2 separate regions of the Homo sapiens genome follow, and region 2 is linked to region 1. Evidence: promoter capture Hi-C in human tissues and cell types (Jung and others, 2019). All regions are on one chromosome and are shown on one strand. Each heading gives the region's core, a stretch centred on a gene start or on the middle of the fragment in contact. The rest is flanking DNA. Distances are from core to core; before and after follow the strand shown. Region 1 holds the start of SCGB1D2 (secretoglobin family 1D member 2). Region 2 overlaps ASRGL1 (asparaginase and isoaspartyl peptidase 1).

The links. Contacts are between HindIII fragments. The study calls those that stand out against the background at their distance.
Region 2: a fragment that was not itself captured here is called in contact with the fragment with the promoter of SCGB1D2 in region 1 in 1 of the 25 tissues and cell types used here (mesendoderm cells).

What each region holds. Positions count from the first base shown.
Region 1 is chr11:62,240,218-62,244,134 of GRCh38, reverse strand. SCGB1D2 (secretoglobin family 1D member 2) reads right to left here and starts at 1,896. Exons shown (of 3, transcript NM_006551.4): 1 at 1,773-1,896; 2 at 659-846. The coding sequence starts at 1,827. The HindIII fragment of the contact is 7,638 bases long and covers 1-3,917 here.
Region 2 is chr11:62,370,183-62,374,099 of GRCh38, reverse strand. All of the region lies in intron 4 of ASRGL1 (asparaginase and isoaspartyl peptidase 1), which reads right to left. It also overlaps the pseudogene RCC2P6. Among named protein-coding and RNA genes, the nearest start is that of ASRGL1, 35 kb to the right of the region's middle. RefSeq lists enhancers at 2,343-2,865, 2,866-3,388. The HindIII fragment of the contact is 5,556 bases long and covers 1-3,917 here.

The sequences.
Region 1 (3,917 bases), core at 647-3,146:
AAAACCTCTGATTTCTTGAGAAAGACAGAGTGAGAACATCCCGCTTCCATGGCACTGCAGGAGGTAGACTAGCTAGGGTCTTGGACGACTGGCCATGGTCAGGAGAGTGTCGTGGGTGTGGAGGGGAGTATGGGGTCTCAGGAGCTGGGAGGGGCTCCTTCCTGGCTCTGCAGAAGCTGCAGAGAAGTCCAGCCTGCCAGTGCTACATCTGCAGGAGCCCCTGCTCTATGTCCCTCCCTGCCTTCCTCTCCCTGTTCAAGGCTCCCATGCTCCCCAGGACATTCCACAGTGACTGTGTCCATTACATGAGGGCAGTTTGGTCTCAGGAAAGCTCCCAGCAGCGAGGCGGCCATGCTTGGCCCTTTACCATTTCTGCCTGGGCCCAGGCTCACTCCCCATGTCCTCAGCACACTCTGGGGACATGGCATCCAGGCAGGTGACATGAGAAGGAGGAACATGCAGGAGGCTGTGTGCAGCTGAGTTGAATTCTGCAGGTGAAATGGTGGCACCCACCCTGTGGCCCCAGGTGACCTTCTCAAGAGGTGACCAGCAAGGCAGCTGCCCCACCACCTGTGTCCCCAACAGAGCAGCAAGCTGACCTCACTTCATACTGTGCAGCTGACCAGAAGCCTTAACAAATAAAGGAGAAAGAAGTTACCAGGACTTCCGCAATGAGGCTTCGTTTCTGAAGGGACATCTGATCCGTGCATCTCTTCACTCCTAACTTGGCTGCAACAGCTTCCGGAGGGGCATCAAATTTGGCAAGACTTAACTTGAACAGAGGTTCACTAATGAAGAAGAAGTCTAACAGCTCAGAAACAAGAGCTGGGCAGAACTCGGCATTGGCTGCAGCAAAAGAATAAAAATATAGTTGATGTTAGGAAAGTCGATTTTTCTCTTTGGCTCCCTGACGTTAGACCAGACAGGATCCCCTGGGTTATATGTTCACATACATTTGTTGTGCTGATGACAATGCCAGACCCTTCAGGTGTGACTTCCTCAAGCTCTCACAATAAAGGAAAGCACTTCATATCAACAGCCAAACTCTTTTTTTTCCCTTTGTCACCCAGGCTGGAATTCAGTAGCTCAATCATGGCTCACTGCAGCCTCTACCTCCTGGGCTCAAGCGATATCCCCATCTCAGCCCCCTAAGTAGCTGAGACTACTGGTGCATGTCACCACGTCCAGCTGATTTTTCATATTTCTTTTGGTAAAGCTGGAGTTTCGCCACGTTGCCTAGGCCGGACTCAAACTCCTGAGCTCAAGCAATTCACTCTCCTTGACCTTCCAAAGTGCTAGGATTACAGGCATGAGCCGCCATGCTTAGCCCACAGCTAGACTCTTTTGACAGTATTAATCTTTCTTACTCCATTCTCATAGCCTCTCCTGGCAGAAGCGCTAACTACCAGTGATAGGAGGAGGCTCAGGGAGGGTGAGCATTGTGCCCAAGGTCAAAGGGCTGGGAAGTGGCGGATCCCAGATTCACCCCAGACCTCACATTACATCATCTGACACAGATCCCACCCAGGAGTGAAGCTCAGGCAGAAGAATTCCTAATATTTGCCTGCACTGATTTTCAATAAAACTTCGTAGGTGCTGGGGAGTAGAAGAAATAGCTCTGAACTTGATGAGGGGCTTGTTCAACAAGCACAGAAAAAGGTTTGGAATTTTGGTTTTGTGCAGATCCTAACCCCAGCCTGAATAGGTGACCTCGTGCTTGGAAGAGGGTGCTTCCCAGGGGCTGGAGCTAGACTCATGACTGATGTACTCACCCTGGTAGCAGCAGAGGGCCAGCGTGACCAGCAGGAGACACACCGACAGCTTCATGGTGGCTTGTTTTGCTGTGAGCTCAGCTTTCACAAACAATGAGTGATTTGGACTCCACCCCAGGAGCCTGTGGAGCTGCAGAGCCCAGGGCTATTTGTACCTAGGGAGTCTAGCTGGTACTGGTCATGAGGCCTGGCTCCCAGCCCACCTCTCCTTCCCAGGGCTGTTGCCATCCATCTGTGTCACCTCCCCACGCCTCCCTGCACTCTGACTGGGGCAGAGCACAGGAGGGTAGCCCTGCAGGAACTCTGCTCTGTGTTCCAGGTGAATGTTCAGGCACCTCTGGAAATATTCCTGGGATTCTGTTTCCTTCTGAGTTTTGCTGATTATTTTTTTTCTTTGTATCAGTTCAAGGGCACAGGTAAATTCTGACTTTGGAAGGCACAGGAAGCTGGAAGGCTGTGTTCTGGTTATGGGGGAGCAGGGACATAAGGAAACCCTGCTTTGATCCCCCTGCATGTCTGACAACCAGTAGGCTTGTTTCAGTTGCACATTGAGCAAGTCTAAACAAGACCTATTCCCCTCAGCCCCTCCCATCACCACCATGTTCACTGCATAGGTACCTAAAACCTAGTTCAATGCATCTTACCTTTGGAGGATTTCCTGGGGAAAAGCAACTGCTGCACCTGTTCTCTAGCCTGTCTCACTCCCAAACCTGAGTCTTGTTTATGAGTGCAGCTATAAATATGGCCAAGACTCACATTTTCTCTCTACGAGGAGCAAGCTTTCTGTGATGTGTAGCCACCCACATGTTGATGGGTTGACCTGATGATTACATAGCCTAACTTTTTCCAAGTAGCTTTTGGAGTGTCCAGAGCCAATCATGCATCGGACAGGTACTGAGAGTTCTTTGCTCTGGGGCTCCAGGAGGGGAAGAAGATGGAAAAGAAGAGACAGATGATCAGGGTGAGTGGTCACTTCCCCCCAACCTCTAGGCTCAAGTTTTCCACTTCAAATCTAGCTGTGCAGCCTGAGCCAATCCCATTTTTAATAGAAAGGGAAGGAAGCACCCAGACAAAGCAATACACACCCTCCTGCCCTCCTGCTGTGATGCCTTTGTGTGGTGTGAGCAGGAAATCAATCACTAGAAATTTCTCTCTCTTTTTTGTTATTATACTTTAAGTTTTAGGGTACGTGTGCACAACGTGCAGGTTAGCTACATATGTATACATGTGCCATGTTGGTGTGCTGCACCAATTAACTCATCATTTAACATTAGGTATATCTCCTAATGCTATCCCTCCCCCCTCCCCCCACCCCACAACAGTCCCTGGTGTGTGCTGTTCCCCTTCCTGTGTCCATGTGTTCTCATTGTTCAATTCCCACCTATGAGTGAGAACACGCGGTGTTTGTTTTTTTGTCCTTGCGATAGTTTGCTGAGAATGATGGTTTCCAGCTTCATCCATGTCCCTACAAAGGACATGAACTCATCATTTTTTATGGCTGCATAGTATTCCGTGGTGTATATGTGCCACATTTTTTTAATCCAGTCTATCATTGTTGGACATTTGGGTTGGTTCCAAGACTTTGCTATTGTGAATAGTGCTGCAATAAACATACGTGTGCATGCGTCTTTATAGCAGCATGATTTATAATCCTTTGGGTATATACCCAGTAATGGGATCGCTGGGTCAAATGGTATTTCTAGTTCAAGGTCCCTGAGGAATCGCCACACTGACTTCCACAATGGTTGAACTAGTTTACATAATCATGTGATTTTTTCATTGGTTCTGTTTATATGCTGGATTACATTTATTGATTTACGTATGTTGAACCAACCTTGCATCCCAGGGATGAAGCCCAATTGATCATGGTGGATAAGTTTAATGCCCACAAGAGAAAGCAGGAAAAATCTAAAATTGACACCCTAACATCACAATTAAAAGAACTAGAGAAGCAAGAGCAAACATATTCAAAAGCTAGCAGAAGGCATTGAATAACTAAGATCAGAGCAGAACTGAAGGAGATAGAGACACAAAAAACCCTTCAAAAAATCAACGAATCCAGGAGCTGGTTTTTTGAAAAGAGCAACAAAATTGATAGACCACTAGCAAGACTAATAAAGAAAAAAAGAGAGAAGAATCAAATAG
Region 2 (3,917 bases), core at 793-3,292, 130 kb before region 1:
GAGAAAAGGAGACCAAAGTACAAGGCGATCGAGGCTGGTACAGAAAGGGCTGATCCTTCTTGCAAGGACTGGAGAATGCATTTGACTGCTGGCTGATCAATCTCTAATTGGCGAGTGCGTGTGACAAGGCTCAGCCCTGGCTCCGCAGGGAGCCATGAAGCTGACTCAACTGATACAAATGTTCCCACCTTTGCTCCACCCCCAAGTCCCCATGGTTCCATAATCACCTGATTTTCATTTGGACTTCTTTAACAGCTAAAGTAGATATAAGTGGCTAAACACAGATCCCCAATCCCCCACCAGGGGGGACACAGCTGATTCTATAATGTTGCAGCCAGAAGGCTGTGGGTGTACAGGCAGCCAAGAGGAGAAACAGAACTGACACCGGCCTAGGCCGATCTGCAAGAAAAAGCGGGAAAGGAGTGACCCGGATGCTTCCGAAGCACGCGAGCATGATTTTGGATGGAGGTGGGCCGGCGACTTCGCCTAGCTGCTGCCGGTTCCTGTAAGGGACATTTTTTCTGAGTAAATGGCGATTCCTCTTCCATGTAGCATCCACTTAGATCACGATGCTAATTATAACTGGAAAGGAGTGTTTTGGGGAGTGTATTCAGGAGAGGAAGAAAGAAAAAAAAAACACCTAGATTGCTCAAAGTTTCTGCCTCTTTGTAGGAATGGTAAGTCAACTACGAGCAAGTATTTTAATTCGACATTAAGAGGAAAAAAGGGTCTTTGGAAAGCAAACAGAAAAAAAGGTAGTTAACGTTGGATCACTTGTAAAACGGAACCTCAGGGAGTCTAAATAAAAATGCACCTTCGGTCCACTTTTGCTTTTTTAAATTCCTTGTTTGACTTCCCGTCCCAGTGCACATGGAAATGACAGCTGCCATGAGAGGTGTGGAGTCGGAGGAGTCTCTGGGAGCATCAGAGGGTTTGGGGGCTGTATTCTGGCAGTTTCTTGATCTTTTCTTTCTCAGTTTCACTTTCATCTCTTGCTATCACCAAGGAGTGTGAGTAGCCCATGGCGACCGGCTCTGAGAAAATGCCATGCAGAGTCTTCACCTCCTGGGCTGCAGTGGAAGACTTGGGCTTGTGATCCCTGTAGCCCAGTTCCCCAAAGGTCGGTGATGGGCCCCAGCTGATGGTGCTCTCATCGGCTGCCACAATGATGCTGCTCTTCCCACAAGCCAGGCTCCAGATTCTCCAGCTGCAGAGGTCCTGCACTGCTTTTGGGTACATGGTAGATTCATGGGAGGTGTTGGTGGCCCCCCAGAAAAACAGACCACCCACTTCACTGACGGCAAAGGAGCAGGTGTAACCAGCATAGATCTGGGAAGCCCCATGCCCAGGGAAGTCAAATAGCTTCACCAGGCGGGGGACCATCTCATCCTTCTGCTCTGTGTAGCCCAGCCAGCCATAGCCACTGAAGCCCCAGGAGAAGACTCACTTCTGGGAGTCCAGGACCAGCATGTGGTTAGCGCCACAGGCCACGTCTCGCATAACCATATTTGGTACAGGCAGAATCTGTCTTTTGTCTTCTCAATGAAGATGGCCACTCGCTGGGGAACTAGTTTGCAGTCATACTCTATCTGCTGTGCCCGGGCAATGAACTTCCCATCTGAGTTGTGTCCCAGCTGACCATATTCAGGGCACCCAAAGGAATAGAGGTTTCCTTTGCAGTCCATTATCATACTGATTTGCAGCCTCACAGGCCATTTTGGTAATTGGCAGGCTGTTGTACATTATCTGCACAGGGCTGGGGACAGCGTCTGTCTAGTTGCCAAGGCCCAGCTGCCCCATCTTGTTTTCCCCAAACGCAAACACGGAGCCCGTTTCCGTCAAGGCCAAGGTGTGGTTCCGCGCACACGCTGCACACAATCACTTCGTGGCTGAGACCCTCGGTGAGTCTGGGGGCTTCTACTCTCTTGGTGTCACCATGTCCCAGCTGCGCCTTCTCATTTCGACCCCAGCTCCACAGCTTTCCTTCTGTGGTGATGAGGAGGCTGTGTGCAGCACAGGAGCCAGAGACCACTGTCCGCACCCGGACCCCCGCCAGGCACCCATACCTATGGGGTCCCCACAAATTCTGACGGATATTGCCGTACGCAGCTTCCTGTTTAGGAACTTTTTTTTTTTTTTTTTTTTTGAGACGGAGTCTTGCTCTGTTGCCCAGGCTAGAGTGCAGTGGCGCGATCTCGGCCCACTGCAAGCTCCGCCTCCCGGGTTCACGCCATTCTCCTGCCTCAGCCTCCTGATTAGCTGGGACTACAGGAGCCCGCCACCACGCCCGGCTAATTTTTTTTGTATTTTTAGTAGAGACGGGGTTTCACCGTGTTAGCCAGGATGGTCTGGATCTCCTGACCTTGTGATCTGCCCGCCTCGGCCTCCCAAAGTGCTGGGATTACAAGCCTGAGCCACCACTCCTGGCCTTGTTTAGGCACTTATTTTCGACCAATCAAGTCCCAGTTGGTTGCCCCCAAAATCAAAAGCTCCCCTTTGCACTTTGTGAGGAAGTCCCTGTGGCCTTCCGCAGTGTATTGTGTCCCTGGGTACTTGAGATTAGAGAATGGTGATGACTTTTACCAAGCATACTGCCTTCAAGCGCTTTTTTAACAAAGCACAGCCTGCACAGCCCTAAATCCATTAAACCTTGAGTAAACACAGCACGTCTCAAGTTTGACGTGCTTCTTGGTGTGCTCGGGTTCGGCGACCACCACAGCCGCACCGCCCACCTTGCCTGCTGCCACAGGCTGCGCCGCGCGCTTGCCCCTGCCGGGGGCCCCGTCGAGCTCCAGGCCGTCCTCGTCGCCGCTGCTGCTGCTGCCACCACTGCTGCTACTGCAGCGCTCGGGAGGCTCGCGCTTCCGGCTGCGGGGCCGCCACGTTTCCTGGGCCCTGGCGTGGGCAGTGCCGTTGCCCGAGCTCAGCTCCTCCCAGGCCGCCACCGCCGCCTTCTTCCTGGGCATGGTTGCGGCTGGTTGGAGTGATGAGAAACCAGAGAGAAAAAAGGAAGAGAAGCAACTAAAAGACGGATCGGAGGGCTTTTTTTTTTTTCCTGGCCCAGACGAGGGCTCCAGCCCACTCAGATACACTTAAAAATGCGCCAGGATGTTTAATGCTGCAATCCAAAATTGGTTGGTAGCAGTACCTACTGTCAGTACCACCAGTAGACTTACTTATCACATGGTAAACAGAATGTCACACAGGCCACAGGTAAATTATTTACAGGACTTTCCTTATCAAAGATCATTAAAATTTAGGCCTAAAGGAAAACCTTGCCCCACGGAAATTCCCAAAGGATCAAAAGACACAGAAGTTTTAGTTTGGGAAGAATGTGTGGCCAATAGTGCGGTGATATTACAAAATGATGAATTCAGAACTATTACAGATTGGGCACCTTGAGGTCAATGCTACCACAATTGCACAGGACAAACTCAATTGTGTCCCAGTGCACAAGTGAGTCCAGCTGTTAATAGTGACTTAACAGAAAGTTTAGACAAACAGAAGCACATAAAATTACAGTCTTTCTACCCTTGGGAATGGGGAGAAAAAGGAATCTCTACTCCAAGACCAGAAATATTAAGTCCTGTTTCTGGTCCTGAACATCCAGAATTATGGAGGCTTACTGTGGCCTCATACTGCATTAGAATTTGGTCTGGAAATCAAACTACAGAAACAAGAGATCGTAAGCCATTTTATACTATCGACCTAAATTCCAGTCTAACAGTTCCTTTGCAAAGTTGTGTAAAGCCCTCTTATATGCTAGTGTTAGGAAATATAGTTATTAAACCAGACTCCCAAACTATAACCTGCGAAAACTGCAGATTGTTTACTTGCATTGATTCGACTTTTAATTGGCAACACCATATTCTGCTAGTGAGAGCAAGAGAAGGCGTGTGGATCCCTGTGTCCATGGA